Regions from separate parts of the Homo sapiens genome. Here region 2 is linked to region 1. The links are contacts of gene promoters, found by promoter capture Hi-C in human tissues and cell types (Jung and others, 2019). All regions are on one chromosome and are shown on one strand. The core of a region is centred on a gene start or on the middle of the fragment in contact, and the rest is flanking DNA. Distances in the headings are between cores, read along the strand shown. Region 1 holds the start of SLC7A2 (solute carrier family 7 member 2). Region 2 has its middle 7.1 kb from the start of MTMR7.

The links. The method cuts DNA at HindIII sites, captures the fragments that hold promoters and counts their contacts. A contact is called where the count stands out against the background at its distance.
Region 2: a fragment that was not itself captured here is called in contact with the fragment with the promoter of SLC7A2 in region 1 in 3 of the 25 tissues and cell types used here (dorsolateral prefrontal cortex, mesenchymal stem cells and thymus).

The regions. Positions count from the first base shown.
Region 1 is chr8:17,494,269-17,499,981 of GRCh38, forward strand. It overlaps SLC7A2 (solute carrier family 7 member 2), which reads left to right and starts at 2,820. Exons shown (of 13, transcript NM_001370338.1): 1 at 2,820-2,969. The HindIII fragment of the contact is 11,749 bases long and covers 1-5,713 here.
Region 2 is chr8:17,417,628-17,423,340 of GRCh38, forward strand. No RefSeq gene overlaps it. Among named protein-coding and RNA genes, the nearest start is that of MTMR7, 7.1 kb to the left of the region's middle. The HindIII fragment of the contact is 6,995 bases long and covers 1-5,713 here.

The DNA of each region.
Region 1 (5,713 bases), core at 1,570-4,069:
TGTGGAATTTATTCAGCTACAAAAGTCCCTTAAAATTCCCCGCAATTTCATAAACCCTTAAGAGTTCAGACATGCAAGAATGTTTGTGAAATCTTTGGAAGATGACAACCTAGGCTACTCTCTCTGCTGAAAATGACTAAGTTGGATTTTCTGCTTCATTCCTAAGGAGGAAACTTGACGGCTGAAAGTGAAAAGTGATGGCAATAAACCAGGGAGCGTGAAATAGAAGGTGGGTGCAAATTTTACTCAACTGGGAAAAAGATGCTAATTCAACCCCGGGCAGCAAGAGAAAATGCAAATGAAGATGAAGTCAAAAGAGCTTAACCTGTTTCAAATATTTCATTTCTAAAAATTCGATTCTATTTTCTCTTGTCTCATAGTCTGTCTTAAGAGACTCATACTAAATCCGTGGGCATCCTATTCTTTCCTCATCTAAACACATTTTTAAAGGTGAGAAATAACCAAAGTTATGAGGCAGGATTCAGGGTTAATCAATAATTTCAAACACGAAATGGAATATGTTAAGTCAAGAACTAGTGTGTAAAGATATTCAGCAATCTTGTTAGAAAGTTGTTTGAAAGAATTTGCTCTTTTTTTGCTTAGAGATGAAGTTGTTGTTCTTATTCACACACATGAACACAGCACGTTCTTGCTTCAGGAAGTGCGCCGGCGGGCAGATTGGATAAATTCAAAGATCGGTATTCTGACAAAATTGGCAGTTTCCAAATTCCAGATAAATTTGTTTATCCCAAATCATTGTGTTGTAACTTAATCACAAATTAAACAGATTTAAACACAGAGCCTTTAAGTAAAAATATGTGGGGAAATAATTGCTTAAGTTTAAAAATAGGAATCTCTATTTTTTTATTTTTTCTTTCTTTATTTTAATCAATGTTGACCAGGTTGGCCTCGAACGTGTAGCCTCGCCTCCTCGAGTGCCAGGGCAACCGCCCTGAGCCACCGCGACTCCCAGGAATCTCTATTTTTTTTAAACCAGGTGAAAAATGTTAGACCAGATTACTCACCCTTAAAAATTAGACAAAGTATCTGAGTCATCGCTCCCTTGAACAACGCCTCCTAGCCGTGGGATTGAGGAGGAATCTGGTGTTAAAAGTCCACACGCATCATTTCCCTTAATGTTATTAATGATAATTTGCATAAGGAATCTTTTTTTGACTGTAAAAATAAGTTTACTTTGACAGTCTCTATTACTTAAGACATTTGGTCTATCAGATAATATCTTCGTAATCATAGTGCTGTTTAAACTTTCAGTTTTTTTGTTCGTTTGCTTTTGTTTTTGAGACGGAATCTCACTCTGTCGCCCAGGCTGGACTGTAGTGGCACTATCTCGGCTCACTGCAACCTCCGCCTCCTGGGCTCAAGCGATTCTCCTGCCTCAACCTCCCGAGTAGCTGGGGTTACAGGCGCCCGCCGCCGCGCCCGGCTAATTTTTGTATTTTTAGTAGAGACGGAGTTTCACCCTGTTGGCCAGACTGGTCTCGAACTCCTGACCTCAGGTGATCGGCGCGCCTCGGCGTCCCAAAGTGCTGGGATTACAGGCGTGAGCCACCACCCCCAGCCTACACTTTCACTTTTTGATGAAATCCATGGATGGCTTCCTGAGATACATTGAGATTTTGTGTGTGTGCTATCTTCTGGAATGAAGCCCCACACCGTTTATTAGATGATCTTGGGGATATATGTCTTGAAGGGAAGAATGATTTAGAATATCACATTAAAATTGTATATGTACTGTGAGGCAGCAATACAAATCTGGCACTTTGCCAAAGTTATTACTAGTAGGTGGGTTAAAGGGACGTTTACTCCAATACTATGCAAAGTAAAGTGGACCTTTCTGTCAAACAAAAATAGTAATAGGCCGGGCATGGTGGCTCAAGCCTGTAATTCTCAGCCTGGTGGCTCAAGCCTGTAGTTGTCAGCACTTTGGGAGGCTGAGGCGGGAGGATAGCTTGAGCCCAGGAGGTCGAGGCTGCAGTGAGCCACGATTGTGTCACTGCCCTCCAGCCTGGGCGACAGAGTGAGACCCTGTCTCTAAAGACAAACCACACACACATATACACACACACACTGACACACACTTATTGTTCAATTCAGTGCGTGTTTTGCTTCGTTTTGGATGAAAATTAACAGGCTTTCACATTGTGACTTAATCTTATCAGAGACTCCTAAAGTAAACAATAGCGCAGTAGGAGAAACCCTGATTGTGTAACTTCTGCTCTTGCTCCCCTGGAAATAATGTCATTTCCTATAAACCCACCCCCAAACAATCGTGACTACGTATTCATACCACTGGAGTCTTCCAAAATAGCAACTGCACATTATTTATCAACGTTTAGTTTGCATTTGACAAAGCACATCCACCTGGGCTTCCATTTATCATTGCTATTATTATATTTTATTATTATTTTCTTATTTCCAAAATCTTTGTAGAATGGAAAGTAAACGGGGGGACCAAAACCCCACTTAGAACTCTGCTTAGAAGATTCGGAAATGCCCTTGAGGTTTGGTCCTCCCAGGAGAGCACGAAGTTTATCCTCGCGCGCAGCCTCTCTTCCCCGGCCCGCGCCCACCGGCCTAGCCCGGGGCTAGCGCCCGCCCACGTGTGCTCGGCTCCAGGCAAACCCCGCTGAGCAGCGGCCGCACACCGCCCACCCCGGGGATTGGTCAGCGCGGCCGGGGCCCGGCGGGAGGCGGGCTCGGGGTCGCGTTCCGGGAGCGCGGAGGAGGCGGTGCCGCCCGGCCCCGCGCCCCGCCCCCGCCCCGGGTGGCTACACAGAGGGGCGCCCACGTGCCCAGCCCTCCTTCTGCAGCGCGGCCGGCGGGCGCTCCTCTTCGCGGGACCAGCGAGGCGGCGGCCGCTGCTCCAGCGTCCCCCAGCCGCGGGCCCCCGACGCGCTGCAGCCGGCAGCCCACCGCCGCCTTCTTGGCGCGACCCCAACCCAGCCCCAGTAAGTTGCTAGGTCTCCAGCCCCGCCGAGAGGCCGCGGGCGAGGGGCAGCCCGGACGCTGGGGCCGGCGGGGAAGGAGCGGGGCGAGGGCGCCCTGGGGCCGGCGGGGAACTAGAGGGTCGAGGGCTCCCGGGGACGAGTCCAGCTGCGCGCAGCTGCCCTGAGGCCGCGCTCCAGCGAGTCTTCGTCAGGGAGTCGGGGCCGTGGGCTGGGGCTGAAGCCGTGGACCTTCGTCCTCGGGGCTGCGCCCCGGAATGCGCCTCGCCTCGTCCGGTCCCTGTGCAGCCGGCTCTGCCCGGGGACTTCGGGGACCGCTGGAACTGGGAGAGGGGCTGGCACGGCGACTTCGCGGGGACCCTTCAGTCACTATTTCCAGAGGAGCTCGGCGCACCCCTCTCCGGGTGGGCAGGCTGAACCTCCTGGCCCTGCACGCTGCCGGGGTCCCCGAAGCCGCCTTCGCTCCTTTTCGGTTCTTGGCTTAAATTAGAAAGCCGGCTTGGAGCGCTGGAAGCCCCTTCACATTCTGCAGGGGACCTGGTAAAATAGCCCGTCTTGGTGTTTGTATTGGGTATTTTAAAGTAACTGGGTGCCTTTTAAAATCCGTTTGAGATGGGCTGTATTTTATAAGCCCGTTTCATGAAACGCTGTTCTTGAGGCTTAGAGAATCTCCCAACCCATCACCCCAGAGTACCTGTCCGTTCAGAAAGTACCTTTTCATCCTCTTTTGACGCTTACATCCAGTCTATGGAGTAAGGTATTGAGAGATTGTCATCTTCAACTCGTCGAAAAGAAATATGCTCAGCAAAAGCCACAATCATATGTGGCTTTTGAAGTGGATATAGTGCCTGGATTTCAAGAGAAAAAGTACTCAGCCTCTTCAGAGTTGTAAATATTTGTGCAAAACTGGCTAAAGCCTTTAGGTGACTAATTTTGGACCAGTAATAAGATTTATCTAGACGTTTGTGCAGAAACACTAATCCTTTTAATGAGAGGATATCGTCAGATCTTATTCAAATAAGAGCTCTCTGAATCCCATCCAGGGCCGCCTGGGTTATAAAATTAGAATGTATGTGGCCTTGACTTGATACTTTTTCATTCTTGCCTGAGCTAGTCTTTAAAAGTTAATAATTATCTCCTCCGGAAGGTGAAACATTCTGTGTTTGTAATCTTTCTCTAGGAGATGTATAAGATGTGAATATTCTGTATTATGTACCTTGTTAGGATTGCTTTGTAATTAGTAAATCCTTTTTTATTTTAATTGCACTGAAGCGTGACATGAAATGATCTCTCAGTGCAGAACACAGGACTTCTTCCCTCTCCTTTTCCTACAAAGTTGCTAGTTGCCTGCTCTGGGAGGCCACTTTATTGTGATTTTTCAAGTTTCTTCCCTCGGCCCACACTTTGTTTACATTCTGTGCCTTCATCTGGGAATGGTCATTTACCTTAAGGCATTTTAATCTTTTAGGGTGTGCCATGGCCTTGGAGACCAGAGTAAAGCGCTGTGGTATCTGCGGGGATCAGTTTGCAGAATCCTTGGCCTCCTAAGCAGTGGGCATAGCTCTTTTCATTCCAGAATCTCTGATCATTCCAGAGTCTCTCCTGTCACTGGGCTTAGGAGCCTGGGAAGGCGAATAGAAGCTAGCTGGGGAGACAGGGGAGCTGTGGCAGTTTAAAAAGCCTGATCTTGCGCTGGAGTTTTTCATCTTGCATTCTCATGTATCTTTGCCTTTTGAACACATGTGCCTGAAGAATTTTAAAGTTCACGTTTCTTGCTTTGCACTGCAAGCACACTCACCTTTGCAGAGTGGAAGTGCCTTGTCCCCATTCTAGGTGGTCTACCTTCTGTTCTCTTTTCAGACCTCCTGGCTTAAGCCCTTGTTTCTCCTGGCTGTTATGGCCAGACCCGGAGTCCCCGTTGTGCCCATTTCTTCTCTTTTCAGTCCTTCCTTTTCAAATGTTTTTTCCCAGAAGTCCTCTGGCAACTTCTCTATTTCACCTAGCCTCTGTCTTCTCTTGTTTTATTTTTCCCTCTCTCCCTCCCTCTCTATCCCTCTTTCCCCCTCTTTCCCTCCTTCTCCCTCCTTTCTCTCTTCCTCTCTCTCTGTCTCTCTCTCTCTCTCCCCCTCTCTCCCTCATTTCTCTCTCCCTCTCTCTGTCCCTCTTCCCTCCATTCTCTCTCCCCCCTTCTCTCTCTGTGTGTTCAGAGCCATCTGCTGGTTTTACTTTGGTGCCCTTTGGTGGACAACTTTCAGAACAGAATCTTGGGAGCACCTTCATGTTGCTGTTTGCTTTATTTCCCCCAAACATGTAGATATGAACACACTGATTTTAAAGACTCTTATAGACTACCTACTAGATGCCAAACATTTAGAACAAAAGCAAAAGCTTTCAGTGGAATATATTTCTAAATACTCACATATTTAGTTTTGGGTGCATCATTTGAATGCTTTGTCATCCAAATGAATCCTGAAAAACTTAGTTAACTAAGATTTCACTTAAGTGATAGCACTTGTCTAAATGGGCTTGAAAATCGAAGCTGTTAATTAATTTCTAAAACTTTAATCTGGATATTAAAAACCATATAGATACAACCTTGAATGACAACAGAAAACTAATGGAATTGTTCTTGTCATTGTCTTCCATTTTAATAACTTTTCATTTTAGTACCTAATATAGTATGTGTCACATAACACATGCTTATATGTCTTTATTGTTGAGTGAATGCCACTGATTTCAACAGTTTG
Region 2 (5,713 bases), core at 1,067-3,566, 77 kb before region 1:
GGGGTCTTTGGGATTCACTAAACTGCCCTCATGAATGAGATGAGTGCCCTTCTAAAAAGAGGCCTGAGAAAAACCTCTTACATCTTCCACCATGTGAAGCTACAGTGAAAAGACAGCCGTCTATGAATCCAGAAGCAGGCTCTCATCAGACACTGAATTGGCCAGCACCTTGATTTTGGACTTCCCAGCCTCCAGAACCATGATAAATAAATTCCTATTCTTTATAAGCCATTCTGCTTATGGTATTTTGTTACAGCAGCCTGAATGGACTAAGACAGATAATATCTGTAGCGATAATATCTGTAAAAAAAAAAAATCTGTTCCTCAGGTTGAGTAGTTGGCATATATATGGGTATTCATCATAGTATTTCCTATATTTTTATACATGCCTTAGGTAGGTCAAAATGAAAATAGAATTAATAGCAAAAATGAGGGATCATTATACTTCCTTGTTAAGGGTGGACGTGTCAATTTACTGAAATTGAGCATAAGACATTTTACATGACAAATATTTATTGAGTGTTCATCTAATGCCAAGCACTGCGGACAAAAGTATGATCAAAACAATCACAGTCCCTGCCCTCAAGGTGTTTCAGTGTAATAATATCAGCCTTATTATTATCTCTTGCCTACTACCAACTCCTCCTCTCGATTTCATTATTTCTTTCATTGATCTCAATTACTCAAGCTCAAAGCCTTGGAGTTGTTTTTGGCTCATCTCTCCTACTGGCCTCCATATCAGGGCAGATGCATTTTCCTCTTCTACAGCATTTCTCCATCCCATCCTTCTCTTCCTTTTTCACTGTCATGACTCTAGTTCAGATCCTCTAGTTCAGCTCTAGTTCAGACTCTAGGTCATAACATATTGCTTCTTCCTGGCTGGAATATTAGCCTCTGCTGCCAGATTAATCTTCATGAAAACCACCCTAACCATATCACTCTCCAGCTTAAAAACCTTCAAGTGGTTTATAATTGCCTTGTGAATTATTTCCTTACTCTGTCCTTTAAGGCTCAGACTGCTGTCTTTTACAAACTCAGCCAAGTAAGTCACTGGCATTTAGTAGGTGCTCAATACTGTTTTTTTTGTTTTTTTGTTTTTTTGAGATGGAGTCTCGCTCTGTCGCCCAGGCTGGAGTGCAGTGGTGCGATCTCAGCTCACTGCAAGCTCCACCTCCTGGGTTCACACCATTCTCCTGCCTCAGCCTTCCCAGTAGCCGGACTACAGGCGCCCGCCACCACGCCCGGCTAATTTTTTTTTTTTTTTTTTTTTGTATTTTTAGTAGAGACAGGGTTTCACCGTGTTAGCCAGGATGGTCTCGATCTCCTGACCTCATGATCCTCCCCCCTCAGCCTCCCAAAGTGCTGGGATTACAGGTGCGAGCCTCTGCACGCAGCCTAGATACATACTTTTAAATGTATCAATTAGTCAACCAATCCCTTTCTATATCCTGCACTTGCAAATTATTTCTATGTCTTCGCTCATGCTGTTCCACGTCTATCAAATTCTTTGAGGTTCATGTCAAAATTCATTTGAACATTCCCACCAGATGCAGTTCTTCCAAAGTAACTCTTGTCTGTTCATTTCAATGAGCAGAGATGATCATAAGCAGTTTATTTTCATCTGTCACAACTTTTCCACGAGGACCTTGATCAGTACATTATGCTAAGGCTACTACACGGTCCACTACATTGATAATAACATGCTGATTGGACCTGTTGAACTGAAAGTGGTAGATGTCTAACTAAGGCACATGCATATCAGAGGGTGGGAGATGCACTCTGGGAAAGTTCAGGGTCCTGACATCTCAGTGAATTTCTAGAGATCTGCAGTAGTCTGGAGCATGTTAAAATAGCCTCTCCAAAGTGAAAGGCAAGTTGCTTCACTTTGCACCCCTACTAATATATGATGTAACCTATTCCTGAGCTATCCAGAAAGGCTACCAGCTCTGCACAGGGCCCAGAGCACAAAAAGGCTCTCCAGCTGGTTTGGGTTGTAGTGGATACGGATCTACCACAGTGGCCTTTTGACCTCAGCAGATCCAGATATACTCAAGGTGACTGCAGCAGATAGAGGTTGGTATGGAGCCTCTTGCAAGCTCTAATTGAAGACTCATGGTTGGTTACTGCATGGCCCACCACAGCCATACAGCGCCCTTGTGTTAACTTTTAAGGTACTTCAAAATATGGTAAAATATACATAAAATTTACCATTTTAACCATTTTAAGTGTATTGTTCAGTGGTGTTAACCGTATTTACATTGTTGTGCAATCATCACCACTATCCATCTCCAGAACGCTTTTCATCTTGCGAAGCTGAAACTCTGTACCCACACAACGATAACTCCTGATTTTTCCCTACCCTTGGCCCCTGGCAATCATCCTTCTACTTTCTATTACTATGAATATGACAACTCTAGGTACCTCACATAAATACCGTATGATCATATAGTATTTGTCCTTTTGTGAATGGCTTATTTCACTTGGCACAATTTTCTTAAGATGCATCCATGTTGTAGCATATGTCAGAATTGTTTGCCTCTTGAAGGCTGAATAATATTCCATTGTGTGGATAGAGCACATTTTGTTTATCCATTCATTCTCCAGTGGACAGTTGGGTTGCTTGTACATTTTGGCTATTGTGAATAATCCTGCTATGAACATGGGTGTGCAGAAATCTCACTGACACCTGCTTTCAATTCTTTTGAATATACACCCCGACATGGAATTGCTGGGTCATATGGTAATTCCATTTTTAGTTTTTTGAGGAAATCTTACACTGTTTTTCATGGTGGTTGCAGCATTTTACCTTCCCACTAACAGTGCAGAAGTGTTCCAATTTCTCTGCTTCATCACAAATACATGTTATTTTCTGGAGGATTTTTGGTTTTAGTTTTTTTTTTTTTTATAGCAGCCATCTTAATGGGTATGAGGTGGTCTGTTGTGCTCATGTTAAAAAGATGCAGAGGATGCCTGCATCCTCTGCATAGCCCAGAAGCACTCAAACATCAGAAGGAAGTGGGACATAAGAGATCTCCCTGGAAAGTCGAGGCTGCAGTGAGCCATGATCACACCACTGCACTTCAGCCTGGGTGACAGAGGTGACCCTGTCTCAAAAACAATAAAGAGAGAGAGAGAGAGAGCTCCCACTGAAGCATACGCTAAAGGTCCAACTGAGTTTCACGAGAAGGTGGTTCAGATTCCCATGTCTTCTTCCAGTGTCGATCAATGCCACCTCTCCCTCAATTCATACTTACAGTGTTATAGGGCATTTAATGCACGTAGTTCACAAAAGAAGAAAAAGTTCCAGCCTGGTTTATATACGTTTCTGCACCATAAACTCAAAGCGGCCGGAAGTGGAATGCTGCAGCACTACAGCTCTGCTCAGGAGTGGCCACCAAGGATGGAGAGGACGGAACTTCTCCAGGTGGGCAGAACTGTGCAGTTTTTCTTGAAACTTCAATGCCTTGAAGGATAGATGGCCACATATACAGACTGATGCCAATTAAAGGTGGGTGAGCAGCATTTGTTCAATGCCCGGGACTTGGAAGGAACAAAATTTGAGATTGGCAATGAGAAACAAGGAAAATATTTAGGGATGGATCTTTCAAAAGAGCCCAGAGTATGAAAATACTTGTGTCCCATGTAAATACTCACCATAGGGCATTGCTTCAGTGATGTAGTGACATTCTCAATAACTATACAGACGGGATGATCCATTTTATGGCGCCTCTTATTATTAAGCTTTCTTCTTCTTCTTCTTGCCCTCTCATTAATTTTGTAAGCACCTAATCTCTTGCATTAAATTCTGTCGGTTTAAAATACTGTTATGGATGGAACGTTTGTGTTCCCATAACATTCATCTGTTGAAACTTTAACCTCCAATATGACTGTATTGGGAGATATGGCCTGCTTGGAGGTGATAGAGGTTAAATAATGTCATAAGGGTCAGGTCCTAATCCCATAGAATTGGTGCCCTTATAAGATGAGGAAGGGACAACAGAGCGCTCTGTCTCTTAGTCATGTGAGCAGACAGCAAGAAGGTGGCTGTCTGCAAGCCAGGAAGAGAGCCCTTGCCAGAAACTGCACCCTGCTGGACCTTGATCTTGGACTTCTCAGCCTCCAGAACTGTGAGAAGTAAACTGTTGCCGTTTAAGCCACTCAGTCTGTGGCATTTTGTTATGGCAGCCCTAGCTGACTAATGTAAGTACTTAGAGTGGATTTTATTCCTTGTACTGATTCTGACCTGACACAGATTCATATCGCAATACAGCTTTTATGAAATCTAAATACTTCAGATTTCATGAATTTATGAGTATAAAGACAGTCACATGAATATTAATATCTAAAATCTCACCAGCCCGAAGCCTCCATCTTCATGATAAAGTCCTGTTCTTCCTAATATTCCCTAATAAATATTTCCAACATGTATACACAAGCCAATCCTGGTGGGTCCCTGCTGTCTTGTCAGCTGGCTCAGGATTCCATGGCAGTAAGCACAGAAAGACCTAAAATATGCTACTCCTCTCTACTGCCACTGTAGCTGCAGGAAATTTGCAGCATGTGATGTCAGGGAAGCTAAAAGGCTGCCTCAGCTCATGACTCAAGAATCAAACTCACACTCATTTTGGAGAATTCCCCATCCAATGATGTTCACTTCCTAGAGTTTAAGAGTTTTTTCTTTTCCCATCATGGTGATCCAAGCTGGGCCCACCATGACAGCTCCATTCTGTGCAAATTCTTGACTGGGACTTAGCTTCCGTTATGGTTGGTCACTGCCATTGCCAATATTGTTACTTTCACTGTGGTTATAGCCACTAACAGTGCTGAAGACATGCTCTCCTCAATGCCTGTGAAATCGCAAAGCTGCCACTGTACCCCAGTGCCAGAGATCTGCCCACTGCAGATATTCTTGAGAAGTTAGGACATTCTTAAGTAAGGGTTTGCCCCACAGCAGAGTTTCTGGCTCACCAAAGTGTCAGAATCAATACGCCTTCCATTCATGCACATTGCCATTCCCCACGAGGTGCGTCACTGGGATGCATTCTAAGATCAGTAAGCCCATTGTACCCAGAGCCACCACTCTCCCTCTGACATGAAAACCTGATGCTAGAATTTGCTTTTCTTGGTTTTCCCATTTTCAGTTGTGATGGGTTTATCTCACTCTTTGGGTGGAGTCAGGACCTTTGTGGGGCAGATCATATGCAGCCTGCATTACAGACTGTCTAGTTCTTCAGATAATTGCAAATATCTCTTCAGGGTTCAAGTTTTTATAAATTCAGGAAGTTCTTCAGCTCCTGTGAAAATAATTGTATTCCAATAGACCCGTGGTGGGGTGGTGGGGGAGGCAGGATTTTTCCTAACCTAACAATATGGGAGCACCTGAGTCCCAGCTGTAGTCCATTTAGGACTTCCTGTCACATTTTGAATAGTGAAAAATTACAAACAATAGCAAAAATAAATTGAATTATTACATAGAGTATGGTGTGGCCATATATACAATATGATATAGCCGTTAAAATTGTTTCAAAGAATACTCAATGACCGGCCGGGCGCGGTGGCTCATGCCTGTAATCCCAGCACTTTGGGAGGCCGAGGCAGGCGGATCACAAGGTCAGGAGATCGAGACCATCCTGGCTAACACGGTGAAACCCTGTCTCTACAAAAAGTACAAAAAATTAGCTGGGCGTGGTGGTGGGCGCCTGTAGTCCCAGCT